4 separate regions of the Homo sapiens genome follow, and all the other regions are linked to region 1. The links are contacts of gene promoters, found by promoter capture Hi-C in human tissues and cell types (Jung and others, 2019). All regions are on one chromosome and are shown on one strand. The core of a region is centred on a gene start or on the middle of the fragment in contact, and the rest is flanking DNA. Distances in the headings are between cores, read along the strand shown.

Region 1 (7,363 bases), core at 4,587-7,086:
AGCCTTCGTCGAGGAAAGTTCCGGCTACCTCTGTTGGGGAATTTGCTTTCATTTTTCACCGCGGGCGAACCTGGCCAGGCGGGTTTCCGAAGCACTGGCAGAGGTGGGGGCTGCCAGGCACTGCCAGGCAGCGAGAGGCCGCTCGACCTGGGGGCGCCGCTTGTCCAGCCTCCCTCGGAGGGCAGACTTGCAGCCACCCGGGCACTAGAAACCACCTCGAGTCCTGCGTTGGGCCGAGGTGTCGGCGTACACGCGAGCCGGGAGCCGTTTCTTGCAGGATGCCTGCGAGCTGGATGTATTCGGATAAATGCAGCGCAAACGACAGCCAGAGAAATCCCGTCGATTCTAAAAATGACAAGGTTGAATTTATTAGACTGAGAGTCATGTTTAAGTGCAGGGAGATGAAAATTATACAAACAGCTCCACGTCCAGTGTGAACACCACTGATCGCTTCCAGCTTCTAGGGCATGTAATTAACACATCTGAATATTTAGATCTAGAGAGAAATATAAAAATACTCTTAAATTCTCCGTGTGTGGACATATATTTCAGTTGAAAACATTCTAGAGCAAGTGTCCTTTACAGCCCCTGCTTGGGTGTCATCTGGGCTGGAGATAGAACTTATGTTCAAATAACCACCCAGAGAATATTATCTATAACCAGAGTGAGTCCCGCATCGCTGAGGGTTACGGTATCTACAGATCTTTAAATATCTGCAGCGTGGCAGAGGTGAAATAAATGTATTTAAGAAAAGCAGGCGCGAAGATAACCGAGCCACTGTGTCCAAACAATATTTCTGGGCATGGAAATAAATTTCCTACAAGGTCGGCAGTGGAGAGTGCAGACAAATGGAGAGGCTTTGGGAAACCCTGTGTGGGGGCCACCGGTCCTGGACCCCATGCACCATGCAAGTTGAAGTGGGCTCTATTGGATGTCCGTGGCCTCGGACTGCGGCGTGACTGCTGCGAGAGGCTCGGCCCTGACGCCCAATACTGCAGCGCTCTGGGGGTCCTCCGAGATACAGGCGCGGAGAGCCTTCGCGGCGCACTGAACCCGACATATGAGGTGGCAGGCCTGGGCTCCCTCGGGCAGCCCTTTCGTCACAGACACTTCAGCTACCCCTCAATCCTGGCTCCACCTGGCTCCGGCAGTGGCCGTTTGGGCCTACAGATGTGGAGGAAGAGCGCAGAAAAAGGCGGGTCCGGCTCGATTCCGAGGCATCCCAAAGCAGGAAGCCGGAGGCCACTGGGAAGAAGGCCACGATTTTTGCGCCTTCTAGAAGCGAGGCCCCACCCAAACTCTTGGGACACTAACTTGAGGCCACAGAGGCAGTTATCTGGGTGTATTTACTTGTATCAGGCACCCACCCACACACACATAGTCACTACTGAGGCCTGGATGCCCCCTTGAGTCTTATCTACATATTTGAAAAGCCCGGGCAACGCCAACAGCGAGGTCGGCAACGTTACAGCTATGAAATTCCAAGGCAAAATACTAATTCCAGAATAGGACAACTGTCCACCAGTCTCTCTCCCTCTTTTTCCTCTTCACCCCTCCAAACCCACCCAACCCTTAAACAGGCGCAGAGCTTCTCAGAGCCCCTGCTCGGAAAGAGATTATAGAGGACTTTGCCATGAGTTTCTGGGAACTGCACACTCCTGGGGCAACCCGGGAGAAATAACCCGGGCCCTGAGAACATCCTACTCCAGGCAGTGTGGCTGCGCAAGAAAGGTTTATACGGCACACCAAGAAGAGAGAGCCAGAATGGGAAATACTCCCTGGCAAGTAAAAAAAAGGGAAAAGGAAAAGGAAATGAAGGAAAAAGATGGGGGAGCCCAGAAAGACGCGGGAGAGAAAACAAAAAGAAGGGAGGAAGAAAATAAATGAGAGCCGAGGAGAGCGCAGGCCGTGGCGAGACCCCGGGCCGGGCCGCGGCTCCTGCACGCCAGGCTTCTCCCCTGCCCCGAGCAGCGGCGAGGGCCGCGCGGGACTGTCCCCTACTGGCCCCGCGAATCTGGGCCTTGCTCCCAGTCAGGTGGGGCGGACCTGGGTGCAGAGGCCTCCGCGCGCGCTTTCTCTCCCCGCTCCCAGGGACCGCGAGGCGGGGCAGGACAGGGGTGGGGAGGCCCCCGGGGGCGCGCGCCAGTCCGGGACTGTTTGGGTGCTCTGGGCCAGGCTTTCCAGCTCGCCGGGCCTGACCTGTCAGGCGGATTATCTTCGAGGGAGATTAATAGGGGAGGCGGGCTGCAATAATAATCGTTTTGTTTGATGTGACAACTCTGATAGGCGTTGATTTACTTACAAACTGATAGGCTTTTAATTGAGCGCCTCCGCCGAGCCCGAGATGAAAGGGAAGCGGCGGTGAAAGGCGGCCCGCCTGCCCTCCGGCCTCAATACTGATTAGCCATCTCGACAGTGAATAGTTCAAGGCATTTTCAAACTTTTTTCCTCAGCTCTTTCCCCTTCCTTCTCCTCCTCCCACCCCCTCCTCCAATATCTGCCTTGCCCACTCCTTTTTTAGAGAAAACAAATCATTTCCATTGTTTGCAAATAAAATCCGCAGGACATCCACGCCAACTGCTGCTGGGGGTTGGAGGCTTTAGGCCTGGCGCAGAGTAATTAATGGCCCCCACTCCCGGGCCCGCGCCGGCCTTCGGGGGTTTGGCCTCCTGCGCGAGGTGCGCAGGCTCGGACGCTGGCGCCTCCCAAAAGCCCCGGGCGCGCAGGCCCCCAGGCGCCCCCATGCGCTCGGACCCTCGGAGTGGAGTTTTGAGAAAAGCGAACGCACGCTGACCACGACCCGCACCCACGCAGCACAGCGCAGCCCCACGAGCGTGTGTGGCCACACCGGGGGACGCAGGAGCCACTCCACGGCCCCCCCAGGCTTCAGGTGCTGAGGCTGCCTCCCCTGAGCCGCCGGCGTAATAAGCTGCTGGAATTAGAGGAGAGGGGGAAGAGCTGAGTCTGGAGGCTGGGGAGGGACGCCCTTGGCTGCGTCCCCCCCGGCCCTGTCGCAGGCCCCAGAATTTCAGTGCCCGGGCCTCGCGGGGAGGCCGCGGCGATAGCGGCCCAAAGGTGGGCTCGCGGCGTTAGGAGCACTACCATTGGTTGGGTCGACACCTAGACGGCCGCGCACTCAGTAACCAGGCACACATGGACACACCCGAAGGATAAGAGTGCTTCACAGACGCGCTGCCCCGCAGAGACAGCGTAGGACTGTCCCGCCCTCCGAAACGCGCACCTGGGACTTGCTCCCCGGAGACCAGACAACCGCCTCCCTCAGCGTGGGGCCTCGCCACCCGCTCGCCGACTCACCTCCCTCAGATGTCGCACGGACACTACAAACCCCCTTGAATGCAGGTGTGCTCTTACACGCTCACACTGACAAACACCAGCCCCAAGCACACACCGCCTCACTCCCCTCTTCTCTCCAAATGAGCTTCAGTCAAGTTACCATTTCATAAAGTTTACCAACCCAAAGAATCAAGGGATAAAATCCAAACGCAGAAAAAGAATGCCTAGGAGCAAATTCTAAAACTCACCCCGGAAAGTTCTCGGTACCCGTGCGGAGTGGGAGACAGAGAAAGAAGCCGGGGAGGGGAGTCAGGTGGGGGAGGGGAGTGAGATGGGCCAAGAGGAGAGGGCGAGCATACCAAGGGCAGTTCCAGACCCGACCCCCGCGCGCACCCGGCTCAGCCCCAGGTGCGCGCCGGTCGAAACCGGGTCTCCAGGCTCGGCCCCCGCCCCCCACGCGGGCACAGACTGGCTCCCGACTCCCAGAGCTCCCAGCCCCACCATTTATCAAAAGGACTTGACAACAAAAGAAGAGCCGGGGCGGAAAAGCGGAGGAGGGGAGATTCAAAGTCTTCTAAGTCGTTCCGAGGAAGGGGGTGTGTCCTCCTCCCCACCCCCTCTAATTTCTGCGAGTTCCTGGAGGAGACCCTCGAACCCGCTCCGGACGCTATCAGAGCCCCGATAACTCACGCAGCGCCACAGGCATGCATACACACTGGGCATCCAGGTCCAGGTACCCGGTGGCACGCACAGCGCCTCCCCTTTTCTTCCCAAACAACCCGAGTGACGGTGCAAATCGAGGGGAACGCGGCAGTCCCGCTCCGCTTCCCTGGAAGAACCCGCGTTCCCACAGGCAGCCGCCCCCTCCCTCTCTCGCTCCTTCCCTCGGCTCTCCTAGCGCAGCTCATTCCGACTCGGCGTTCCAATAAATTCGAGAGAGCAGCCCCGAGTTACCCTGGCTCCCCAGCCTGCGGGGATGGCGGCAGGTGGGAGAAGGTCGGGGAGGGGGCATGAGTGAGCCTGAGATGTTTCTTCCCCCATACACCCATGGCCAGGCCTCTTCTTCGCAGCCTCTTAGCCCTGCTTACGACCCGAGGGGGTCAAAGAATTGAGGCGAGGTTTGCCCCACCATTGACCTCCAGGACTAGAAGTTCCTTGGTGGTGTGGCTCTTAGAAGTCTCCGAGTTTGGGGTTAGGGAACTACAGAGGGTGGCAGCCTGACCTCCGCACGCAACACGCCCCGCGAGGACTCGCGGCGGCGGGGTGGGGTGGCGGGAAATCTCCCGTGTTAGAAGTTGCCGCCGCTGGTCTCGGGTACCCGGAGCCGCGCCCGAACTCCGCGACCCCAACAGACCGAGGCTCCCAGAGGTGGAAGGGCGTCTCTCCGACACCGAGAGGGCAGGCGCACACTCCAGGCCTGCGCGCCCCTCTCGGCGCCCTGGGCGCACCTGCGCACTTTACTCTCGCTATTCATTTTCCTGACACCGTGCGCCTCTTTCATTCTTTTTCTTAGAGCCCCCACCCCACCCCCATCCCAGGAGGCCGCTCCTCTTTTCCCCTCCTCCAGTTCCCTCTCAATCTCCTCCTTCCTCTCCGTCTCTCTCTCCCTCTCTCTTTTTCCCTTCAAGTCGCACCCGCCTTGTAATCAGCAACAAAAGCTGACATAAATCACGGGAGGATTGACAAGAGCTGACAAATAACTGATTGATTGCGGTCGAGGAACATTGACAATTGATGGAGGGGTGGAGATGCCCAAAGAAGGGGGGGAGGGAGGAAAACAGGGTGGGAGAGTAAGAATGGGGGGTTGGGGGACAGACTGAGGGTGAAACAGAGGAAACATGTGACCCCCGCTGCTGCCCCAATCTACGCGTCCCCGGGCGTCACGTGGCCGGGAAGGGCGGAGAGCCCAGCGCTCCTCGCGGTGTTGAGCCGCCGCCGCTGCGACTGCCCATCTAGCTTCTGGTTTCTCCGCCGCGGAATCTGAGGAAATTAGAGCGGGCGGGCGGGCTTCTTCCAGCTCCGGCTCCCCACCTTGCCTTCTTACCCTGGTGGCTGCGCTGCGCCGCGCGGGATCTCGATTACTGCGAAGGAAAAAACACTGGGTGTGCAGGTTCCCTTCGCCCCTGGAGTTGACAGTCCGGCCGGTGTCCACACTCCCACCGGTGCTCCTTCTGGACACCCCCCGCAGTCTGTTCCTCACGCGCACCCCCCTTCAAAAGAAGGTTTCAGTTTATTTTCGAGCTGGGGAAAGGAAGAACGACGAGGAGGAAAAAAGAGGGAGGCGGCGGATGGCAAACGTAGAATAAATGTCCATCTCGTCCTCCCAGCGAAATCGAGGGAGGGGACACACAGGGGGGCGGCGAAGAGGGAGCTGCCCATTAAAACCGGCACTGAGAGTCCTGGCAGCGGCGGCGGCGGCGGCGCGGGACGCGTCACATCCCCTTGACCCTCCAATCACCTCGGGCTCCCATTTGATTGGAAGGCGGCAAAGGCTTTAATCTCCCCCTTGGTGCAGCTGCTTTTGAAGTGAGTTTCCTCGCCAGAGCCCCGGCTGGACACGCAGCGGCTCGCATCGCAGAGCGCAGCGCCGGCGCGGGGCCGCGAGAACGCAGCGCAGGGGAGCAGCCCGAGGCGGACACCGCGAGCCGCCCGGCACTCCCGCAGTCCAGCCGGCTCCTCTAGCCCGGCCACGGCTCCGCTGCGGGCCACCCAGGATTACTCGCGTCTGGCTCCAGGCGCCGAGAAGGCGCGCTGGGCGCCCGTGGCCGCCGCGCCAGCTCCTCCTCCTCCCGCTGCTCCTGCTCCCGGGGCGAGCGCGCAGCCCCGAGCCCGCCCCGCGCCTCCCGGAGCCCTCCCCCCCGCTGCTCCCATGCGCGCGGGTGGGTCATGAGCACAGCGCCCTCGCTTTCTGCCCTAAGAAGCAGTAAGCACAGCGGCGGCGGCGGCGGCGGAGGCGGAGGCGGCGGTGCAGACCCTGCCTGGACCAGCGCGCTCTCTGGAAATAGCTCCGGCCCCGGCCCAGGCTCGTCCCCGGCCGGCAGCACCAAGCCTTTTGTGCACGCCGTGCCCCCCTCTGACCCCCTGCGCCAGGCCAACCGCCTGCCAATCAAGGTGCTGAAGATGCTGACGGCACGAACTGGCCACATTTTGCACCCCGAGTACCTGCAGCCCCTGCCTTCCACGCCGGTCAGCCCCATCGAGGTAAGGACCCTCTCTCTGGATCGCACTGGGACCACTACCCTGGCTGCCACCCTAGGGCTTTCTTTTTCTCGGGATCTGGGCGGAGGTGGGGGGGTCGGAGTGATTCAGCTCCCGAATGGGGGAAGAGGCTACTGCTTCCGTACCTCAAAACTAGGGCGGAAAAGGGGGAGGAAGTGGAATGGGGCGTGCATGCTAGGGAGCAAGGCTGCCAATACTTGTTTCTCCTTTCGATATGAAAGCCCCTACCCCGACCCAGGCCCCTTCACTCGGCACCGAAGGCAGGCGGAGGTCTGAAATACGGTTCCAAAGTCGCCGTCCTTCGTATCCGCAGAAGCCAGTGTGTGCACACAGCCTCTGAGGCGCCAGCCGCCCGAGCCCTTACTCTGAAGAATTAAGGAGTGTTTGTGGGGAGGGGGTACAGTTCTGGGTCTAGGAACCGAAAACCAAAACATTTTGCTCTTTAAAAATCTAGTTAGCGCTCAGAGAGGGCAGGAAAGATGCTGCTGGGGGTGGTGGTTGGGCGGGGGGAGCAATCTGCTGCCTTTCCCAACGGCGAGAATGTTTGTGAGTGGGTGTTGAAGAGGGGGTGCCGCCTAGAATTGCGCCTTGGGGCTGGGAGGATCTTCGTGGGCTGTTGCGGAGAGGCATTTGAACCCCAGAAGCCAGGATTCTAAAGGGTTTCCACTTCTTTCTCTGTGTGACGCTCCCCCCCCATCGTCTGACCCCGCAGCTCGATGCCAAGAAGAGCCCGCTGGCGCTGTTGGCGCAAACATGTTCGCAGATCGGGAAGCCCGACCCCTCGCCCTCCTCCAAACTCTCCTCGGTTGCCTCCAACGGGGGCGGCGCGGGCGGTGCCGGCGGCGGTGCT
Region 2 (7,363 bases), core at 3,198-5,697, 830 kb before region 1:
TTTGGTCATAGGCCACTAAACGAGGAGACAGAAGGAAACCTCAAATCCATCTCCCCAAGGAGTTTGGGGCTAGGGTTTTTAAAGGTCTGGGAGCGGGCCAAAGTGTGGAGACCATTGATTGGTTAAAGAGTGCAGAGTAAGTCATGGGACAGGGAGATGAAGAAACCATTCTCATGCTGATTCAGTTCCTCTGTTGGGGTCTTCAAAATGGTTAGCATTAGCTGTTCCACTGGAATTCAGAATCTGCATCTGCAATTCTCAAACATAAACCTTATGATTGTAGTGTCAGAGATCCTATCTATCTTAAAAGCCTGATGTAACTCCAGAAATCCTGTCTATAGGAACAATGGGGATGCAAATAGTCAGGATCTGGTGTTACCTGACTTTCAGTTACAAGGAACTGGGTCAAAGTGCAGCCTGCTTAATTAATGCTTAATTATAACTACATTTCTGTCCAGAATTCTTGTTAACCCTGTGAGGATGGCATCAGGCTTTCCTAGAGATCTAGCTAGACTGTCTGGGTTCTAACCTGCCTCTGCCCCTCCCTTGCTATGTGACCTTGAACAATATATTTGGCCTGAGGCTAAGTTCACTCGTTTTAGAAAATGGATCATCCCATCGACTTCTTTGGGATGGTTATTGGAGGTCATTTTTTGGGCTCGCCAAACAGAATGTACCACCCCAAACTATATTTCTTTGGCATATTTCGAGCTGGTTACTCTGAGGAACTGCACACACGGAAGTAGCTCTGAAAACTTGTCCTTTTGTAAAAGAAACTTACATCTGTAAAGGAAATCTACATTAGTAAACTATCTGGATCAGAAAAAGTCTGCTAGCTGCAGAAAACTGTTATGACCTGAGAGTCTTTTAATCTGTATAAGAAGACAACCCTTATTCGTCATACAGTTTCTAACCCCATCTTCCCAAAACTCATGTCCCTGCCAGCCCCCAGAAATTCCAAGCTTCTACTCCTGTAACTCAATAGTCATGAATTCCCTCCCGTAGAATCTTATCAGCCAGGGACAATTATCTATATCACAAGAGAGGAGAATAGAGGTGACACCACACCCAGAAAGACCCTGTCGCAGGCTGTCACCTATTCTGAGGGCCCATTCATCTTTCCCAGAAATCCTCTGCAGGTATACCTCATTCCACTGCACTTCACAGATACTATTTTTTCTACAAACTGAAGGATTTGTGGCAACCCTGCATCTAGTAAGTCTACCAACACCATTTTTCCCACAGCATGTGCTTATCTTACGTCTCTGGGTTACATTTTGGTAATTTGGGTAACATTTCAAACTTTTTCATTATTATTATATCTGTTATGGTGATCTGTGATCAGTGATCTTTGATTTCATTATCCTAATTGTTTTGGGGTACCATGAATCATGCTCATAGAAGATGGCAAGCTTAATAAGTGTTGTGTGTGTTCTGACTGCTCCACCAACTGACTGTTTCCCCATCTCTCTCTCTCTCCCCAGGCTTCCCTATTCCCTGAGACACAACGATATTGAAATTAGGCCAATTTATAACTCTACAATGGCTTCTAAGTGTTCAGGTGAAAGAAAGAGGCACACTTAAATCAAAAGCTAGAAATGATTAAGCTTAGTGAGGAAGGCATTTCAAAAGCCAAGATAGGCTGAAAGCTAGGCCTCTTATACCAAACGATTAGCCAAACAGTGAATGCAAAGGAAAAGTTCTTGAAGGAGATTAAAAGTGCTACTCCAGTGAGCACATGAATGATAAGAAAGTGAAACAGCCTTATTGCTGATATGGAGAAAGTTTTAGCGGTATGGATAGAAGATCAAACCAACCATGACATTTCCTTAAGCCAAAGCCTAATCCAGAGCAAGGCCTTAACTCTCCTCATTTATGTAAAGGCTGAGAGGTAAAGAAGCTACAGAAGAAAAGTTTGAAGCTAAGAGAGGTTGGTTCATAAGGTTTAAGGAAAGACGCTGTCTTCATAAAAGGGCAAGGTGAAGCAACAAGTGCTGATGGAAAAATTGCAGCAAATTATCCAGGAGATCCAGCTAAGATTTGATGAAGGTGACTACACTAAACAACAGATTTCCAATGTAGACAAAACAGCCTTACATGGGAAGAAGATGCCATTTGGGGCTTTTATAGCTAGAGAGAAGTCAATGCCTGGCTTCAAAGCTTCAAAGGACAGGCTGACTCTCTTGATAAGAGCTAATGTATCTGGCGACTTTAAGTTGAAGCCAATGTTCATTTATCATTCCAAAAATTCTAGGGCCCTTAAGAATTACGCTAAATCTACTCTGCCTGTGTGCTATCAATGAAACAACAAAGCCTGGATGACAGCACATCCGTTCACAGCATGATTTACTTAAATATTAATTTAAGCCCACTATTGAGACCTACTGCTCAGAAAAAAAAGATTTCTTTCAAAATATTACTGCTCATTGACAATATACCTGGTCACCCAAGAGCTCTGATGAAGATATACAAGGAGATCAATGCTGTTTTAATGCCTCCTCACACAACAGCCATTCTGTAGCCCATGTATCAAGGAGTAATTTCAAGTTTCAAGTCCTCTTATTTAAGAAATATATTTAGTAAGGCTATCGCTGCCATAGATAGTGATTCCTCTGATGGATCTGGGCAATAGAAATTGAAAATCTTCTGGAAAGGATTCACCATTCTAGATGTTACTAAGAACATTTGTGATTCATGGGAGGAGGTCAAAGTATCAACATTAACAGGAGTTTGAAAGAAGTGAATTCCAACCCTCACGGATGATTTTGAGGGGCTCAAGACTTCAGTAGAGGAAATAACAGCAGATGTGGTAGAAATAGCAAGAGAACCAGAATTAGAAGAGAAGCCTGAAGATAGGACTGAATTGCTGCAACTTCATGATAAAGCTTTTAAAGATGAGGAGTTGCTCCTTATAGATGAGCAAAGAAAGTGTTTTTTGTTTGTTTGTTTGTTTGTTTTGAGATGGAATCTACTCCTGGTGAAGATGCTGTGAACATTCTTGAAATGACCACAAAGGATTTAGAATATTACTAAACTTAGATGATAAAGCATAGGCAGGGTTTGAGAGGATTTACTCTAATTTTAAAAGAAGTTCTAATGTGAGTAAAATGCTATCACACAGCATCACATGCTACAGAGAAATCTTTCGTGAGTCAATCAATGTGGCAAACCTCATTGTTGTCTTCTTTTAAGAAATTGTCACAGCCATCCCAACCTTCAGCAACAACCTCCCTGATCAGTCAGCAGCCAGCAACTCTGAAACAATACCCTTCACCAGCAAAAAGATGGTAACTAACTGAAAATGCAGATAGTTATTAGCATTTTTAACAATAAAGTATTTTAAAATTAAGGTATGTATATTGTTTATTTAGACATAATGTTATCATACACCTCACAGACTACAGTATTGTATAGCTTTTATACACACTGGGAAAACCAAACATTCATGTTACTTGCTTTATTGCAATTTTTGTTTTATTGGGGCAGTCTTGATAGTGAAAGGAGGCAGCCAAATGCCTAGGCAGACAGTGGGGGTCCCCGGTGAAATCCCACCTCCAAGCTGATTACAGTTTGAAGCCTGAAAGCCAAGCTACAAGTTAAATTCTTGGACCAGACTGAGAACTTGTCTTCCCATTTGGCGCACTTTTCTCTGACTGTCCCCACCTTTCACCTATTTTACATATACCTACCCTTTCGTAATTGGTTTTCTTCACTGTCATGCCCACCTTTGAGTGGTGTCTTTGGTTTAAACTTTTTTGCATACCCCCAAACCAATCAGCACACACTCCCCATTCTGAGTCCATAAAAGGCCCCAGGCCCAGACACACAGGGGACTTTCCCACCTTTGGGTAGGGGGACCACCCCTGTGTCCCCTCTCCACTGAAAGCTGTTTCATCACCAATAAAACTCCCCATCTGGCTCACTCTTCCATTGTCAGTACATCCTTATTTTTCTTGGGTGCAAGACAAGAACTCGGGAACCAGTGTGTAAGCCAGACTTAGGCCGTCTCCTACAGCAGGTAGAGGCCATCTCCTGCAGCAGCTAGTGTGGTCGAGCAAGGCCAGGGTAGGGCATCGCTGGCCAGAGGTCTCCAGCTTGCACGGTGACCAAGAAGAAAATCCTGCATCAGTCTAGAATTGAGATTTCAATATCTCCAAGGTATGCTTGTACCTTCCCTAAGTTGTCTGCATTCCCCCTCTCTTCTCCCCTATGAAGAGGGTATAAAAACTTCTAGATCTCACTGGGTGTTCACCTTTGTTTTATATGATGCTCCTATGCATGTAATAAATTTATGTGTCCTTTCTCCTATTAATTGGTCTAATGTCCATTTATTCCATAGATTCAATTATCAAACTCTCAGAGGGCAGAGGGAAAATTTTCACTCCCTTATATCATCAGAAATATAAATAAAAATAGCACAACACTCAGTAAATGATTATGTTATTATTGTTATGTTTGTAATATCTTGGTGTCTGGTTATTTTAAATCATATCACTTAAAGAAACAGTGTTCCCTAAAACCAAGTTTATTATTATTCAGACTCCTTTAAACATGCTATTTGATATTTCTAGGAACAAAGAAGAGATAAATCAATAGAATAGGAATTACTGGAAATCACTGGGTTTCACCTCCATTTACACTGAAGTGTTATAGAAGAAATAGCCAAGAATGTGATTTTTATTTTAAGTCTACCCTGATCTCCCTAAAATTCTCTTTAGAATTCTCTTTGCTCTGGGATTGTATATGTTTTCCCCTCACTTAATTTCCCTCCTGTGGTTTGTATATAGAAACTGATAAGAAAGCACTAATCTCAAACTAACTGTGTGTGAGATTTTGTGGATATGCCCTTAATGTAAATAATCCAACCTCTCTCCTACAAACTGTTTCTGTCACAAGGCTATTTGTGATAATAACTACCACAGTCACTCAGAGACTTTTTTTCATCATTAGAGGGGTGATATCTCCACTAGCAAAGATGGTTTTTATTACTTTGCATAAACTTCTGTAGCTTAAAAGGAGCAGTAGTAAAGTTAGTTCAAGGCCCTTTATGACTTCTTTTGTTCTGCAAAGTTGGGGAGGAAAAACATCGATGAGGTATGAAAAGGCTGTTTGTTTACAGTCAGCACCAAGATCCTTGCCTTTTTCATAAAAGGAAAGGAAACCAGCAGGAGAATCACAATACCCAGCACCTCCTTGGGTCTCTCTGCATTCTCCACACTTGTGTATTAAGCAGCCAGGCAGCTGTTGAACAAGTACTATCAACAAAGCAATCTTCTAGCCCTTTGATTCAGGCTATTCATATCTTCTGCCCTGAAATAAAATGACTTTCACAATTAAAACACCGAAATCAATGCAGTATCTATTGTCATGTCTGCTGGAGAAAAGCTTTAATTACAGCCATAGTTAGATAACACAATCATTACACCTCCTTAATCTCAAATATAAAAACCAGCACCCTCTGAGTACTTTGCCACCCTTTCTTTGATTTTTTTTTCTTTTTCTTTTTTCTTTCTTTCTCTTTCCCCCACAACATGAATGGCTTTTTATCTAAGCACTTCAATTTGCATGCCTTTGCTCGGAGGCAGCTCCCCATGATATGTTAATTGCAGATTGCTTTAAGTACTAAAAGATTAACATAAAACCCTTTGCAAACAAGCTAATAGTTTATGATAATTTTTGCATGGCCTTTGTCTGTCTATCACTGGATTGCCTCTAGCTGTAATTTTATAAAGAAGCTGTAAAATATCATTTAAACAAGTTCATTTACACATAATTATTACCAGAATCACATTATTCAATTTAGATACTCCAGCCTATTAACAATCCATGAACTAAAATGTAATTAAACTATTTTCCTTTTATGAACCTATTCATTACAATGTATGGGAGATGGATCTCTCAGTTTCACTGCAAATTTCAGCACTTTGTTGTTGAAATTGACAAGTCTGGCACTCATTATGTGCTTTTAATTATATTAAAAGTATTGCAAGACAGCTCAGATAAAGAATATGTTTAGAAAAGAATGCCTGGAAATGCCAAGATGGTGTCATCCCCAAATATATATTTATTTTATTCATGCATGGGATTTTTGGGGTTTTTTTTTTTTTTGCCCTCTTAACAGTGAAAAATAAAATCATGCTAGTTGTTTTAATTGATATTTTCATAGTTTCTCTTAGTAAGTTTTCTAATTTAAGCCAAGGATAAATATCTCATCTAATTAATAGTGTTTACTCATTTTTCCAGATTTCTATCTACTTTTTTTTGAAACTACAGTCAGAATAATATCCAAAAAAGTATATTCTCCCAGCATTTACATACAGATACACAATTATTTCAGATATGAAGGATGCTGTATTTGTAATTTGATTTAAAACTACTGACTCGCTTAATTCTGGATACAAACTTGAATATGTGTGGAAGCAACTGAATTAATAAGAAACATTTAATCTGTTTTGAAAGGGACAAGTTTCCCTCTCTGCTTTCTGCTTGGTGTTGCTTGATTTCAGAGTTAACTCAACTTTTAGTTAGGGTGTTACAGTAGGTAGGCAGTCAGACATCAGCAGGGCAGGAGAGACCCACCCCTACCCCACCAGGAATGTCAGGCAACCATCAGGTGATGGTCAGGCAGTTATTACACTGCCTCGCTAAAATAATAATTGGTCCCAGGGGGCTCCAGGGAAAGGCAGCCTACCAATAGATAGAAATACCTGAAACTGGTTATCAGCAGCTTCCTGAAAAGATCTCAGGAGTTGGGTGAATGGGCTTAAGAAAGTGAACTAAGGGGCAAAATGGTGAAGTCGAAAATGGCTCAAAGGAGCATGCGTACAACTTCAGTAAACACACCCAGGTTGGGTGCTCCTGGAGCAGCTATAAAAAAGGATGCCACCAACTCCCAAGCCCAGACTGGATCCTCCCCAACCTCCCACCCGCAAAGACACGGGCTCGGAAGAGATACCTCAAAGTGTGGGGGTGTTGATATGCTGAGTATTTTGAACTAAAGAAGCAGTCTCAGAACCAGAGTCTGACCTTCTTCTGCCCACCCTCTCTCACCCCTCTACCTCTTGCCAAGCACAGAGGGCGGCTTTTTCTGAAGTTCCCTCATCTGACTAAGGGAAGTTCCTCTAGAAGGAATGCAATTGTCTTGCATCACCTCTCTATAATCTCATCAAACAGGGAAGATTAACTTGCAGAAATGAAGACTAGAGTACACAGCACACTCAGAGCCCAGACAGACTTCGTCCCAGGACATCATCTGTTCTTGATGCCCATTCTTCTCTCCTAAACATCATTTACTTTTTCCTCTAAAAGTGCCTGCAGACCCCCACTACTCTCTCCCATGGAGAAGGGCATATAAGCTTCGAAT
Region 3 (7,347 bases), core at 2,812-5,311, 700 kb before region 1:
GCATGTCTTGGCTTGGGGCTACATAACTCCAGTCTCTGCCTGTCTTCTCCTGGCCTTCTCCCCTGTGTCTCTGTGTCTGTTTCCCTGTCTCTTCTATTAAAAGAACTTTTCCTAGAATCGAGGGCTTACACTAATATAGGAAGATTTCATTTTGGACTTCTTAACTTAATTACATGTGTAAAGACTCTTCCCCCCCACCCCCCAAATAAGCCCACATTCACAGGTTCCAGGGGACCATATCTTCTGGGGTGGAAGGCACTCTTCAACCTATCACAGGCACTTATTGTGAAGATGGCATTGCTCTGGGAGTCTGGAATATACCCATGGAAAAAAACGGTAACGAAATCCTGCCTTTTGGAGTTTAAATTCTAGCAGGTAGAGACAGATGATAAATATTAAGCATAATATTTATGTCAATAAATATATAAGTCAAATGCAGTTTCTTAAAACGTGGTAAGTGTTCTGGAAAAAAGAAACACAGACCAAGATGAAGGAGGCCCTTGGCTGCCAAGGTGATATTGGTGGAGGGCAGTTTCCATTATTAAATACAGTGGTTTGGGTGAGGCTCATAGAAAAGGTAAGATTTCAGCAAAACCTAGAAAAGGTAATTAGCCAAGTGGATATCTGAGAGAAGACACTTGCAGGCAGAGAGAATGGCTAGAGCAAAGGCCTGGAGCAGGAGCTTGCTTTGTACATTCTAGAAACAGCAATGGAGCCAGTATGGTTGGGACAGATTGAGAAAGGGGAGTGCAGGAGAAAGGCAGCAGGGACATGAGACAGGGCAAGGCCTCCCAGTGAGATGGCAGCCAGAGGGGGGTTCCATATGGGGGGTGAGCCACAAACACGGCCCTTCGTCTTCTCATCCATCCACTCATCTATTCAAAAATTCAGCCCATTGTCATGACCCTGGCAAGAAAGAGAAGGCATATTCACCTGGGATTTTAAAAGAACAAATTCTTTACAGGGGTGTGGGCAAGATCAAAGGAACCCCGGGGACACTGAAGCACCAGAGCTACCCAGAGCAGATAGCCGTGGCCAAGACACACGGTGAGACCCAGAGCTGCAGGGAGACCCAGAGCTGCAGGGAGACCTAGAGCTGCAGGGAGACCCAGAGCTGCAGGGAGGGCAGCCTGGCATGAAAGGCTATAGTCCTGGATGGACACAGCCAGAACCACAAAGTTGCAGGTGGCAATGGGAGGGGAAGTAGCCCTACCTCTCCCTCATTGTCCAAACCCAACCAGAAGCCAGAGGGCAATGGAGCCTGGTGGTTGAAGGCATTATCACCCCAGGACACAGAGCAAGGGAAAGAAGAGTAAAACATAGGTCTGGGATGACAAATAGGGAGTAGGCCACACACCCAAGCATAGTGCCGTCCCTGGAGAGTCTGCAGAGGGTAGAAGAGCCATGGTCCTTCCCTGCTTGGGCCTTGCATTCTAGTGGTAGACAGACATTCAACAAACACACACAAACAAACACAACACACACAAACACACACAAAAGCTGGCAGATCCTGGAAGAAATTCCATCCATACTTGGAAGAAGGGAATGGTGTGGAATTTTTTTTTTTTTTTTAGATAGAGTCTCATTCTGTCACCCAGGCTGGAGTGCAGTGGCATGATCTCCATTCACTGCAACCTCCACCTCCCAGGTTCAAGCAATTCTCTGCCTCAGCCTCCCAAGTAGCTGGGATTCCAGGCGCCCACCACCACACCTGGCTAACTTTTGTATTTTTAGTAGAGGCAGGGTTTCATCATCTTGGCCAGGCTGGTCTTGAACTCCTGACCTCGTGATCCACCCGCCTCAGCCTCCCAAAGTGCTGGGATTACAGGCGTGAGCCACTATGTCTGGCCGGAATTTTTAACCTAAGGGCAGATACCAGTCTGCATCTTGCTGAGGCAGCCCAAACTCTGATAGAAAACACACAGTCATCCTGGCTTGAATAATTAAATAATCATGAGAGAGATATAAACTATCCATTACAATCTGGGAAAAAGGCTTGAATTTATGAATACATTACCTACCACAACTAAAAGGGGTGAAAATGTGTTCATCAACCTCAGGAAGTGTATGAGTAAGTCAGGCTCCATCATGCTGCCCTTGTTCAAAACCTGAGCACAGAACCCCCTGCTGGAAATGCCTTGGCAGCTCTGTGTGCTGCATCTACTGTGAGAGAACAGAGGCCCCCGGGATCAGAAGAGCAGTCAAGGGCAGTGAGTCATCCACTCTGCATGATGAGGAAACTCTCCCACTGGCAACTGGAAGCACTTCTTGTCATGCAAAACTCATGACTTTTCAAGAGGGCTCTTATTGTTAAAAACAACCTCTTTATCCTCAACTGCATTTTGCCATGTTGTATCTTCCATCCAAGAAGGTTATGAAATTGCTAGGAAAGTCTTAAAGGAGACCCAAAAAAATCATCCTCTTTAGAGAAGCTACAAAGGTTCCTACATGAAACTAGTAGAAAGATGACTTCCTTGCCTGTCTTACTTCAATAATGAAAAGTTAGGGCCCTCTGGGAAGACAAACTCAAAGAGCAATATGACAAAAATTATAGTCAAAGGAGATAGTAGGTTCCTTAAAACATTAAACGTAGAATTACCACATGACCCGGCAATTCCACTCCCAGGTATATACCCTAAAGAATGGAAAACAGGTACTCAAGCAGGACATGTTCAGGCCAGTGGCTCACATCTAATCCCAGCAATCTGGGAGGCCAAGGCGGGAGGACTGCTTGAACCCAAGAGTTAAAGGCCAGCCTGGGCAACAGAGGACCCTATCTCTACAAAAAATTTTTAAAAAATAGATAGGCATGGTGGTGCACACCTATAGTCCCAGCTACACAGGAGGCTGAGGTGGGAGAATAGCTTGAGCCCAGGTGTTTGAGGCTGCAGTGAACCATGATTGCGCCACTGCAGTACAGCTTGGGTGACAGAGTGAGACCCTGTCTCAAAACAAACAAACAAAAAAACAAAAGACATGGAACTGACCTAAATGGAAAAAGCAAATATGGTACATTTATACCATAGCATACTATGCAGCCATTAAAACAAATGAGATTATGTCCTTTGCAGCAACATGGATGGAGCTGGAGGCCATTATGCTAAGCAAACTAATGCACGAACAGAAAGCCAAATACTGCAGGTTCTCACTTATAAATGCGAGCTAAACAATGAGAATTCGCAAACACTAAGAGGGGAACAACAATGGGGCCTACTTAATGGTAGAGGGTGGGAAGAGGAAGAGGATCAGAAAAAATACCCATAGGGTATTGTGCTTATTACCTGGGTAACAATCTGTACACCAAACCCCACAACAACGCGGTTTACCTATGTAAAAAACCTGCACATCTAAAATAAAAGTTAAAAAAACAGATGCAATAAAAATATGTTCATAGTGGCACTATTCACAATAGTGAAAAGATGGAAACACCCAAACGTCCATCAAAGGATGAATGGATAAACAAAATGTGATATAGCCATACAAAGGAGTATTATTCAGTCATGAAAAGGAATGAAATACTGATACATGCTATGATGTGGATAATCTTGAAAACATTATGCTAAGTGAAAGAAGTCATTTACAAAAAGTCACATATTGTAAGACTCTATAAGAAATATATAAACTTCATAATCATATTTATAATATTTATAAGAAATAGATAAATCCATGGAGACAAAATGCAGATTGTTATTCCCCAAGGGCTGGAAGAGTGGGAAATGGGAGAAACTGCTTTGTGGGTTACGAGCTTGACTTTGGAACAATGGAAATGTTTAGAACTAGATAGAAAGGGCAGTCACACAACCCTGCGAATGTACTAAATGTCACTGAATTGTTCACTTCTAAATGTTCAATATGAATTTCATCTTAATACATTTTTTTTTTGAGACAGAGTCTCAATCTCGTTGCCCAGGCTGGAGTACAGCGGTGTGATCTAGGCTCACTGCAACCTCTGCCTCCCGGGTTCAAGTGATTCTCCTGCTTCAGCCTCCCAAGTAGCTGGGATTACATGTGTGTGGCACCACGCCTGGCTAATTCTGTGTTTTTAATAGAGACAGAGCTTCCCCATGTTGGTCAGGCTGTTCTCAAACTCCTGGCCTCAACTGATCCGCCTGCCTTGGCCTCCCAAAGTGTTGGGATTACAGGCATGAGCCACTGTGCCTGGCAATAAAATTTTTTAAAAGGAAAAGGGGATAATAAGGGTGAATACATGAATAGTCAGCAAATTCTGCCATACTAGAACTTTTGGTTCAAAAGATGTAAATTTAGAACTAACAACAAAAAGCCAGCCTTACTACCAGGTAACAAACCCAAGGACCTAATAAGACCAAGATGTGGCATAGAATGAAAATATAAATCAGTTCATAAAGGTACAGACTAGCACTTCTTAAACAATCAGTAGTTTTTGTTTATATTAAATTTCCTATCCTTCATAAATAGATACTTTTGTAATAAAATGAATTATTAGGACTTCTGGCTTCCTCTTTGAATATAAAAAGCTGGAGAGAATATCACTCATGCAATAAAAAAAAAGAGCTGGATAATTTGTAAAATTATTACTTTTCTTGATCCCAGCAGGGAACTGAACCAGTGGGAGGAAGATGGGGCCTCTGATGCCTGGATGTGAAGAATTCAGCTAAAATTTTCAATAGATTGCTGAAGGCCAACTATGTACTAGCATGAGAAAATAGAATCCCTGGAACTGCAGACACAGAGGGGTTCACAGCCACTCTTTTCCAAGGACCTCTCTATGTGCTCACAGAGAAAGAGTGGGGGCAGGACTAGGGTACAGGGAAAGCTACCCTCAATTCTACAGGAGGGAGCAGATGCTACTAATGGAAAGGCAGAGAGCTCTTCAAAATTACTTGTCCCTTAAAAGAACAAAAGCTTTAAATTGCTGGGAAAGAGGTAGCATACACTGTCATGCTGGGGGCATACTGTATCTGAGGAAAATGTTAAAGAATGAAAGACTTCAACCCCTGCAGAAGAACAGTAAGTGATCCTAGACCTGGACTATCAGAGGTCTCCTACAGCTGAGGCAGGACTCATCAATGAGCAAGACCCACCCATAAAGCAAAAGCCATTGATTGATGTTGGAGGCAGATAAGGGAGAGGGTCCCTGGAATCTCCGACCTGCCTGCACACTGGGAGAAAGGGCTGAAGCCACGGGAAGCTTGTGTCATGTGGAGGTGGGGAGGAGCCTGGCCTCTTCCGTTCCTGTGTATGGCCTGAAATCAATCTGTGAGATGGGGGCCTGTTAGCAGGAACCCCTCTTGCTTTCTGAGAGTTTTTTTTCTTTTTTCCTTTTTGCCCAATAGATTCCACATTCCCTTTACCCTTCAATATGTCTGTGTGCCTAACTTTTCCTGATCATGTGACAAGAACCTGGTTTTAGCTGAACTAAGGAGCAAAGTTCTGCAACACCATTACCAGAAATAAAGAAGAATATTACATAATGATGAAGAGGTCATTTATCAGGAACACATAACAATCCTAAATGTGTATGTACTTAACAACAGATCTTCAAAATACATAAAGCAAAAAATGATAAAACTGAAAGAAAAAAGGGAAAAATCTATGATTACAGTTGGAGACTTCATCACTCCTCTCTCACTAATCAATAAAGTAGACACTGATATAGAAGACCTGAACAACACTATCAACCAACCTGACCTAATTAACATTATGAAGCCTCATATGAAACAACAGTAAAAATACATATTATTTTCAAATACAAACAAAACAGTCACTAAAACAGACAGTATTCTGGGCAATAAAACAAACCTCAATAAATTTAACAGAATTTAAATAATACAAAGTGTGTTATCTAACAACACAAAATTATTATTATTACTATTGGTTTATTTATTATTTATTTCCTTTTTAACCACACAAAATTAAACTAGTAATGAATACAAAAAAGATATCTGGAATATTGCCAAGTATATGAAATTAACAAATTAAAGTCTAAAGAACACAGGTAAAAGGAAGTCATAAGGCAATGTGGAAAATATATTTTAATTGAATAAAACAAAATACATGGGATGCAGCTAAAGCAGGGCTCAGAGGGAAATTTATAGCACTAAAATGCTTACACTAGTAAAGAATATCAAGAATCTAGGTTTCTACCTTAAGAAAGTAGAAAAATAAAAGCAAATTAAATGCAAAGCCAAAAGAACAAATAAATTAAGACAGACAAAGCAGAGATGAATAAAATAAAAAAGAAAATTAAAAAAATTAATGAAACTGCCATTGCAAAATTATAGCTGAGATAGTGAAAGAGATCTGACCTAATCAACTCCTTCTTGCTTCTAACCTCCAGGCTGTCCTTGTTCATTCCTGGGCATAGGTCAAATTAACTTTGGGAGGAACTTAGTTTATATTAATAGTTTAACTTCAAAACAAAGACAATAACAGACCTTTCTTGAAACAAACCTCCTTCTTGCCTGGGGACTAGATGGCCTTTGTAGGTAGGACTAACATATTAGCTACAAGATTAGAAATTATGGTTTAGGAGTCATGTAGCTGGAAGGCACAAGATTCTGACCCTCCCAAAATTGCTCCTCAGGATAACATCACTATCGTAAAACCTAAGATCAATGCTTGAGATATTTTGCAGACCCTGCACTTGATGAATCAGCTAGCACCATCCAGATTGATAAACTGGCTCATCTGGTAGCCCTCACCCAGGAACTGACTCAATGCAAGAGGACAGCTTCACCTCCCTATTATTTCATCTCCAACCTGACCAATCAGCACTCCTGACTCACTGGGTTCTACCCACCAAATTGTCCTTAAACACTCTGATTCCTAAATGCTTGGAGAGACTGATTGGAGTAATAATAAAACTCCAGTCTCCCACACAGCTGGCTCTGGGTGAATAACTCTTTCTGTATTGCAATTGCCCATCTTGATAAATTGGCTCTGTCTAGGCAACAGGTAAGGTGAACCTGCTGGGCGGTTACATTAGTAGTACCAAAATCTAGTTCTTTAAAAAAAAGTCAATACAACTGATAGACTTCTAGTCAGATTTAATATGAAAAAAAAGAAGAAAGTACAAGTTGTCAATATCAGCAATGAAAGATGGGACGCTAATACAGATATTTAAGATATTAAAATGATAATGAAAGAATATTACAAACTTTAGGACCCTAAATTGTATTTAAATGGCATTGTCAAATCCCTTTGAAGACACCAATTACCAAATCTCATCCTAAAAGGAAATAGATAATCTGAATAGCCCTCTGCCAATTAAAGAAATTGTATTTGTAGTTAAAAATCTTCTGACAACTTTGACAACAAAAGTGATAAAAAACTACATGTCTAATGAATGTATCTATATTCATTAGA
Region 4 (7,731 bases), core at 1,476-3,975, 880 kb before region 1:
AATCACACCTGCAAAGTCCCTTTTGCCATATAAGGTAATCCCAGTTTCTAAGAATTAGGACATGGACATATTCGGATGATTGTTATTCAGCCTATCACAAAGACCAAAAATAACATCCCAAACTTTAGGTACTTTCGTGGAAAAAGAAATGACCTGAGCTCTTGAAGATGTGACCAGGATGCAGAACAGTGGAATTGCCTCCCTAATTACATTCATATTCTCTGTCTAACAGCAGTAAAACAAGAAAGGTGTGGTGGTGGTGCATGCCTGTAGTCCCAACTGTTTGGGAGGCTGAGGCTGGCAGATCACTTGAACCAAGGAGTTCAAGATCAGCCTGGGCAATAGAGTGAGACCTCCTCTCCATTTAAAAAGAAAAAGAAAAGCAGTGAAACACAGTGGCAAAGAACACAGGCTGTGGGGTGAAATACACCAGGGTATTGGTTGAACCAGCTCAACCAAACACCTGGATGAACATGATCAAATTACTTAACCTCTCTGAACCTCAATTTCCTGTTCCCCAAATGGAGATCACAATAATACTCCCTTTCTGGGGTTGTTATGAGGATTAATGAGATAATACCTATATAGCACTCTTTGTTGTATATAGTAAGCATTCAATCGATGTTATTATTATGTTATTATTATAATTATTCAATCACTGGCCACCCAGCCTGGACTTGAACTCACACCTGAGTATTTTAGAGGCCTCCTTCAGTACAGATCACTGAAATTTCCAGAACTTCCTCTTCCCCTTACTTGAAATCCGATCTGTCCCTCAAGCACTTGTCTCATTCATGCTCCTTCATGCTTCCCCAGTGGGAAGAACTCTATCTCCCTTTCCTTCTGACCTCCAACAACAGGTGCACCACTCGTGTAAGGCTATCACTGATCTTGCTGCTTCCAATCTTATTTTTATGTTTTAGCACCATATGTAGATTACAAACTGCCTGAGGGCAAATACTGCTGTACTAGTACTCAGTGAAGACATGTGGCCACAGTAGATAATCAATAAACTGGTTAAATAAACTCATTGCAGAGTTTATTCCTCCCAGATCTGTGGGGAAACACAATTTCACATTTCCCATTAAAGGGGAGCTAACTGTACACCCTAAGATATGCTGCAACCTTGAAGTTGAGGTTCTAAAGTGAATTTAGTCCTCATCTCCCTTTTCCATTATGTGCTCCACAGTTCCCTATATCCCAGGATGATGAAGACCCCTCTTTCTCCCTCTGTATACCAAGAAGTTTAAGTATCAGCAACACACCAAGGGAAAATAGCAAACAGACTTCTGTTTGGACATGAAATTGAACAAAGAGCTCACACCAGTCAGAGCCAGTTTGAACCAGTCTGCACGGCTCTGAAATCTGCCGGACCTCCCTCTGAAGCTGGCACAAAGACACGAAGAACATCATTGACTTCAATCTTTGGCCTTCTAACCAGGAAAGGACTTGTGAAGGTGAATGGTTTGCAGACGAAGGGGATATAAAAGAGACAAAACCAGGATAAAAATTAAATAAAAAGTAGCTGTCTTAAACTGTAATTGCAGTCCTCTGCTGAGCACGCTTGCAGATATATAAATGTGATTTACCATCAGCTTGCAACTACAAATCAGGTCTTGAGAAACACTTGTGCTATGAAATTGTTTAATCTCATCAAGCTCTGCTTTCACAGCAAGCCATAAATCACAAAGTCTTTGTTATCATAGACCTCCACCAGCGCCTCTCTGGCAGGCTATGGATCGTGGGTATATATAATCTTGACTGCACAAACACTGGGGTCGACGCAGGCTGAAATACTTTCATAATAGCCACTGTGCAGCTGGTGGAACACAAGCCTATGATGGATATCTCATTTCCTACAGTCGGCATCTATTTCGAGCAAATTATTACCACATAAATTTCTTGTCAACAGAAACGGCCAATTAATTAAGTTAAAAATTTACTTGTGATCACATCTACAAACCAAATAGAACTGCAAGGCAATTTTCCAGTTACTGAATATACTGCAGGTCAGTTTAATGAATAATTTTTAACTTTGTCATAAACTCAAAGACAGGCTAATATCTCCAGAAACCTGAATGGAGACCAGCTGCCGACAGATTTACACAAAATATATTTATGTGGAATTTGATTGCTGACATCTGGGGACAGAAATAAACTTTCTATAATTACAGAGGCATCTTTGCCATATATATGCATTTCTTTCACCAAAAAATGCAAATCTGTCCCCAGAAAGGGTGTATTTACATTTTCAGGCAGGGCTACAATGGGGCTGGATGGTTCTTGGAAAAATCATTGCATTAAATTCCTGTGCTAGTGATGGGTTCATTATCATGCAGGAAGACAATAACAGGCCAAGACCTGTTTATCACTGCCCCCCACCTTCCTACACACAAAAAATCAGGATGCTTTCTCTCTTTGAGGTTGCAAGCCACTTGGCACATGTCCAATAGTGGAGGCAGCATTGGGAGGATTTAGGGGTCTGTCAGGTAAGGCAGATTGACACAGCTTCCCCTTAGGGTTATTATGCATATAAAATAGATCTACATGGAAATAAGGCCGGCAGAGGGCCCTTTTCATAATTCCTGCTTTAACCATGTCTCTTTGAACTGAAGAAAATTCATGGATGATGGGGGGGTTGGGGGAATGGTAGTTGTCCAGGTGAGTATAAAGGATGTGGATTTGGGGAACACATCAGATCTGACTGCTAACAGTGATTTACTCAATGAGCCACCTATTGGATATAGAATTAGGGTTTTCAATAGGGCCGTTATGTACCCCAGAAGTAGAGGGCACTCAAGGTCCTCCAAATTATAGTCCCAGTCTATCTTTAACAATTTCACTGTTCCCTATTCTCAACCTGTCACTGCCAAATGACCAAGCTAGACTACTTAATGTTCCTACCACGTGCCTTGGCTTTTGTACTTCTGTAACTTTGCTCCAACAAAGGACCTTTGAGGTCTGTTCCCATATACTTCCACTTTCCAGATTTTTATCTCCAAGATGACCTCCTTGGCTTTTCCTCAGCCTAGAAAAGACCTTTGCTCTTCAGCAAGACACTTCCTTCTACACAAAAATTGAGAGCCTGTCATTCTACCACGAGCAGAATGAGCAGTTTGAGTTCACAGCCACTGAAGTGTTCAAGAAGATGCCAGACAACCATTTGGTGGGCTGTTGTAACGGGGACTCAATGTGTGTGGAGAGTTGGACTAAATAACTGCTAAAGCTTTTCATCCCTGGGATTATAATTTTTTAATCCTTAGCCTGTATATCAATAAGGCCACAAGCAATTCTACAATGGTTGCTTGTGCCCTTGTTGGTAAACTTCCTGAAGGCAGGGATCATTTTACTCATATTTACAGTTTTCTCAGCACACAGTCCAGTACCTTTTTTTTTAAGGCACATTCCCTAGAAAAGTTATTGAGGGCTGATTTTACGGAGGTTTTCTCATATTTGCAGCACTCAACTTCAGGTGGCATTTGATACACTACTGTACCATGATAATCAATATGAACAGTGCTGATGTGTGCTTATGATGTTTAGGGCACCTTGCTAGAATTCTGAGAATTCCAGGAGGCAAATACATTCTCTCCCAGACTAATTTTAATTAAGGAAAAAAGTCACACAGTGAGCTCAAAGCATACCCCAAACAAACAGGGGCTGAATAAATGAATGATCAATGTGCAAAATACAAAATAAGATAGAATATAAATGTTAAATCAAGGGTATCAATAATTTTCAGTATCAGGGTAGACAATGCAAAAACGTTTGTGTTTTAGAATCTGAAGGGTGCAAAAAAGTGATTCCATATAATTCTTCACTCTGCTACTGTGGATACAAAATCCCCTACCCCAAGCTGAACCAGCTTGCTCAAGGTCACTAAAATGGAAGATGGCAAAAAGAGAATCATACCTAGCTGTGCTCAATACCTGCCCTTCATTCTTTCCATCACATCCACCAAACCCAACAAGGTTACTCCTATAAAGTCTAAGGATTAAATTGCTTTTCAGTTTTTCCTGGTTAATTTCATGTTCCTTGAATCAAAGTATAAATACCTCTTCTCTGGCTCAGGCCTTGGCTCTACGTGTCCCTGGATTATTTCTGATGACAAAATACATTTCAAAATTTTCTCCTTGACAATGATCTTAAATGTGAAGACATTGCCTAAACATCTAATTTCACCAGTCATCTACTCTGGATCCTTTCTGCCACACACACTCACTCACAAATAGGCATTAAATGCAGAGGTTGATTGGATTCAAATCTTAGCTCAACCCTTTATGAGTTATGGGAATTTAGGCTGGTTACTTCACTTCTCAGTGCCTCAGTCTCCTTGTCTATAAAATGGGACTACCTCATAGTGTCATGAGTATTACATTAGACAACACATGTAACATTTTAAAACAATGCCTATAAGAAGCATTTATTCTGAGATCAGGAGTTCAAGACCAGACTGGCCAACATGGTGAAACCCTGTCTCTACTAAAAATACAAAAAATTAGCTGGGTATGGTGGTGGGCACCTGTAATCCCAGCTACTCAGGAGGCTGAGGCAGGAGAATCGCTTGAACCCGGGAGGCAGCGGTTGCAGTGAGCCAAGATCGTGCCATTGCACTCCAGCCTGGGCAACAAGAGCGAAACTCCATCTCAAAAAAAAAAAAAAAAAAAAAAAGAAGCATTTGTTATTAGTTTTTAATCCTTAGCCCGTCTATACCACTTTTGGCATAGTAAATCTCATATTCTTATCCCATGCTGTGTAAACTTTATTTCTTTTCATTTGTCCTGTACTTGCCTTGTGAAGCTTCAAGGAAGAATTCATAAAAGAATAATGATGATGATGATGATAACAGATAACATTTTTGCCTGTATTATGTTCCAGGCACTGCTATAAACACTTTACATTCGTTATCAACAGCCTTAGGAGGCAAATATTCTTATTATCTCCAAATCACAGATGTGACCTAGAAAGGTTAAGTAACTTGTCCAAGGTCATACAGCTATAATTGGTCAAACTCTAAGTTCATGCTCTTAATCACTGCAATTTAGTGTTACTGTATTTGGTCAGCAATTCCTTATCATTTTATTTCTCTCATTTATAATATTATAGGTATTGCTCATGTCCTCCATCATACTCCATTTTTCCAGAACAGTCTGAGTCAGTCATTATTCCTATCCCCAAGGACCTTGCAGTTCAGACAAGGAAACAAAATAAATGTGGATATGAAAAGCATATCCACATAAGAAAAACAAACTTGTTCTAACCCATCCAACTCCATCATGCTTGTTTATTTCATTCTTCCTTGAAGCTTCTCTCTACCCAGCAACAATAGTTTTTGAGAGTGTATCTAATCATAGCACCAAATCACTATTTAAAGATGTTGGGCAAAGTAAAAGAATCTTTCAATAAAGTTCAATTAGCTTGTGAGTTCAAATATGAAACACACACTACTGTATTTCAGGAGGAAGGGAGAGGCCAGAGGAGGTTCCATAGCAGAGCTTTTGTGAAATTAGAGTCAGGATTTCTATAAAAGAAAATGTTTTATTACAGAGACAATGAACAAGAAACATGGGGAATTACCTATATGCTGTCTGAGTGCTACTAACAAAGGCAGGTAATAGTGTGGGTGAGACACCGCTGACTGTCAGGTTATCTTGTTGAGGGTCACTGCTGCCAGAGTGTCAAGGTCGGGATAAGACAGTATAACAAAGCAGAAGCGAGGAACGCCTGCCTCCCTGGCTGATCCACTGACGATTAGCAGCATAGGGGACATGAGTGATGATAATATCACAGTTTTACATGCGTTGAGCACTTTATAGTTTATAAAGCACTTTCACAGTCATTATCTCATTATATTTTTAAAGAATTTCTTACGGAAGATTCAGTAATGACCAAACCTGCCGAGGAACACTTCACTTTTCAGGGATACATTTTCCTGATTTGAGAAAAGCTATCTACTTTGAGTTGGGTAAACACATGAGCACAGATTTAGAAACTGGAATTCAATGAAGGAGCCAGAAGACTCTAGGGTTAACTGGAGGTATAGTACAGCTCATCCCAGACAGTGCCAGAAATTATACAGGGAATCTGCAAAATCCGAAAAATTCTCATTAATGCATCCAAATCTAGAAAGAAGCAAACTTTATCTAGGCATTCTTCTCTTCTCCTTCTTCTGACTGAGTAATGGATTAAGTAACCACTGGGAAAAGCAAATGAAACACAGAAAACTAACAACTGGGTACACCCTCTAATGGGCATGAAAATTCCATGATGACCCAGTGAATTAGAGAAATCATCCAAAGCCCAAAAGTAAACCCTAATGAAGGTTTAACAGAATGTCAGATGAGAGAATTAAGTCTGGCTATTCCAATAAAGATCACATCCCTTCTCAGTTGAACTATTCTCCTCCCTACCCCATTTTCTGAAGCTACAGAACATGGACAAAACATGAAATACTTACTTCTCAAACTGCAACTTTGAGGGTAAAAGAAGCTCATATTATGAGAGGTGGGAAGATAATTAAGAAGCCATTCACACTGTATATTTCAGAGTTACTCAAACATGATCAGAGAGAAAACAAACAGCACAGCAAAAAATTCAGACTAACAACAAAACCAGGAAAAGGAGGACAGAAGCACATCATGCAAAAGACACAAAAAGGACCCAACAACTAAAGGAACAGCAGAAAAAAAAATCCAAATAGCTTTATGCTATAAAACAACTTAGTAAGAACAAGACTTTAATAAAAGAGGGGCTCAGCTGAATGCAGTTTAATTGAATGTGAGCCTGCCTCTTGCATGAGAGGGTAAGCCCACTACCTCCTATCTCTTCCACTGATTACAACTAAACACTGCACAAAATACAAGGATACTGAGGATGGGGAAAAGTAAAACAAAAGCCAGTGGCTTATGGAGAAGCTACCCACCAAGAGGTGAATTTCTGGGTTTATTGTTCTTTTTTAATGTGGCTTTTCCCCAAATGCAGGCCCCAATCACAGAGTCGTCTGATACAGCAGTACCATGGAAATCTCAAACTCCACTTTCTATTTCTATTTCAAATTTCTGGGCTGAAGAGCTGTGAAAAACAGCCCTTAAGGACTGGAAGGTGTGGAGGGAATCCCAGAGTGAGAGAGCTGGAGAAGGGGATACTCTAATTCTGTATATGAAACTACACAAGTTCCCAGCTCATCTCTGAGCTGTGCATTTGGATGTGCGGGACATATCCAAAGCAGATTAGCAAGGGCTCTGAGAACGGAATGAGGATCGTAAACCACCATCCAGGTTTCATACTAACTCTTGAGTGTACAGGCACAGACAGATCAAGAGGAGGATGTCAAAGGCTTTGAAAACTGGACCAAGATTGGAACCCACGAAAGGCAAGACAGAACCCATAGTCTGAAAGAAATGAGGCTAATTCTTCATAAAACAAAAAAGTAAATATTAATATTCTTCACAGAGTTGTAATATATCCAATATTGAAGCAACATAATGTTCAAAATGCCCAGGATACAAGCCAAAAATTACTAAATATACAAATAAGTATTAGTCACATTTGTGTAAAAAAAATAATCCACATATATGGCTCAGATGTTGGAATTAGCAAATAAACACATCAAAGCACCTATTATAGCTGCATAGTCCATGAGATAAAGTTGAGCTTGCTTTAAATTAGTAGAAAAGTAGAAGCTCTCAGGAAAGATACAAAAGCTATAAAAAACTTAGAAATTTTAGATCT

Evidence for each region. The method cuts DNA at HindIII sites, captures the fragments that hold promoters and counts their contacts. A contact is called where the count stands out against the background at its distance.
Region 2: a contact is called between a fragment that was not itself captured here and the fragment with the promoter of ZNF503 in region 1, in 1 of the 25 tissues and cell types used here (mesenchymal stem cells).
Region 3: a contact is called between a fragment that was not itself captured here and the fragment with the promoter of ZNF503 in region 1, in 1 of the 25 tissues and cell types used here (mesendoderm cells).
Region 4: a contact is called between a fragment that was not itself captured here and the fragment with the promoter of ZNF503 in region 1, in 1 of the 25 tissues and cell types used here (H1 embryonic stem cells).

The regions. Positions count from the first base shown.
Region 1 is chr10:75,400,237-75,407,599 of GRCh38, reverse strand. It overlaps ZNF503 (zinc finger protein 503), which reads left to right and starts at 5,836. Exons shown (of 2, transcript NM_032772.6): 1 at 5,836-6,495; 2 at 7,226-7,363. The coding sequence starts at 6,181. ZNF503-AS2 (ZNF503 antisense RNA 2) reads right to left here and starts at 6,072. Exons shown (of 2, transcript NR_024421.1): 1 at 5,339-6,072; 2 at 1-345. RefSeq lists enhancers at 1-650, 651-1,390, 1,391-2,131, 1,719-2,794, 6,334-6,834 and 1 more. The HindIII fragment of the contact is 17,931 bases long and covers 1-7,363 here.
Region 2 is chr10:76,229,300-76,236,662 of GRCh38, reverse strand. All of the region lies in intron 5 of LRMDA (leucine rich melanocyte differentiation associated), which reads right to left. Among named protein-coding and RNA genes, the nearest start is that of KCNMA1-AS1, 660 kb to the left of the region's middle. RefSeq lists enhancers at 4,567-5,284, 5,285-6,004. The HindIII fragment of the contact is 3,847 bases long and covers 2,524-6,370 here.
Region 3 is chr10:76,098,272-76,105,618 of GRCh38, reverse strand. The region is part of intron 5 of LRMDA (leucine rich melanocyte differentiation associated); the gene reads right to left. Among named protein-coding and RNA genes, the nearest start is that of MIR606, 550 kb to the right of the region's middle. RefSeq lists an enhancer at 1,909-2,608. The HindIII fragment of the contact is 5,744 bases long and covers 1,190-6,933 here.
Region 4 is chr10:76,276,480-76,284,210 of GRCh38, reverse strand. The region is part of intron 5 of LRMDA (leucine rich melanocyte differentiation associated); the gene reads right to left. It overlaps LOC124902462 (a long non-coding RNA gene), which reads left to right. Exons shown (of 3, transcript XR_007062203.1): 3 at 1-6,967. Among named protein-coding and RNA genes, the nearest start is that of KCNMA1-AS1, 610 kb to the left of the region's middle. The HindIII fragment of the contact is 4,657 bases long and covers 397-5,053 here.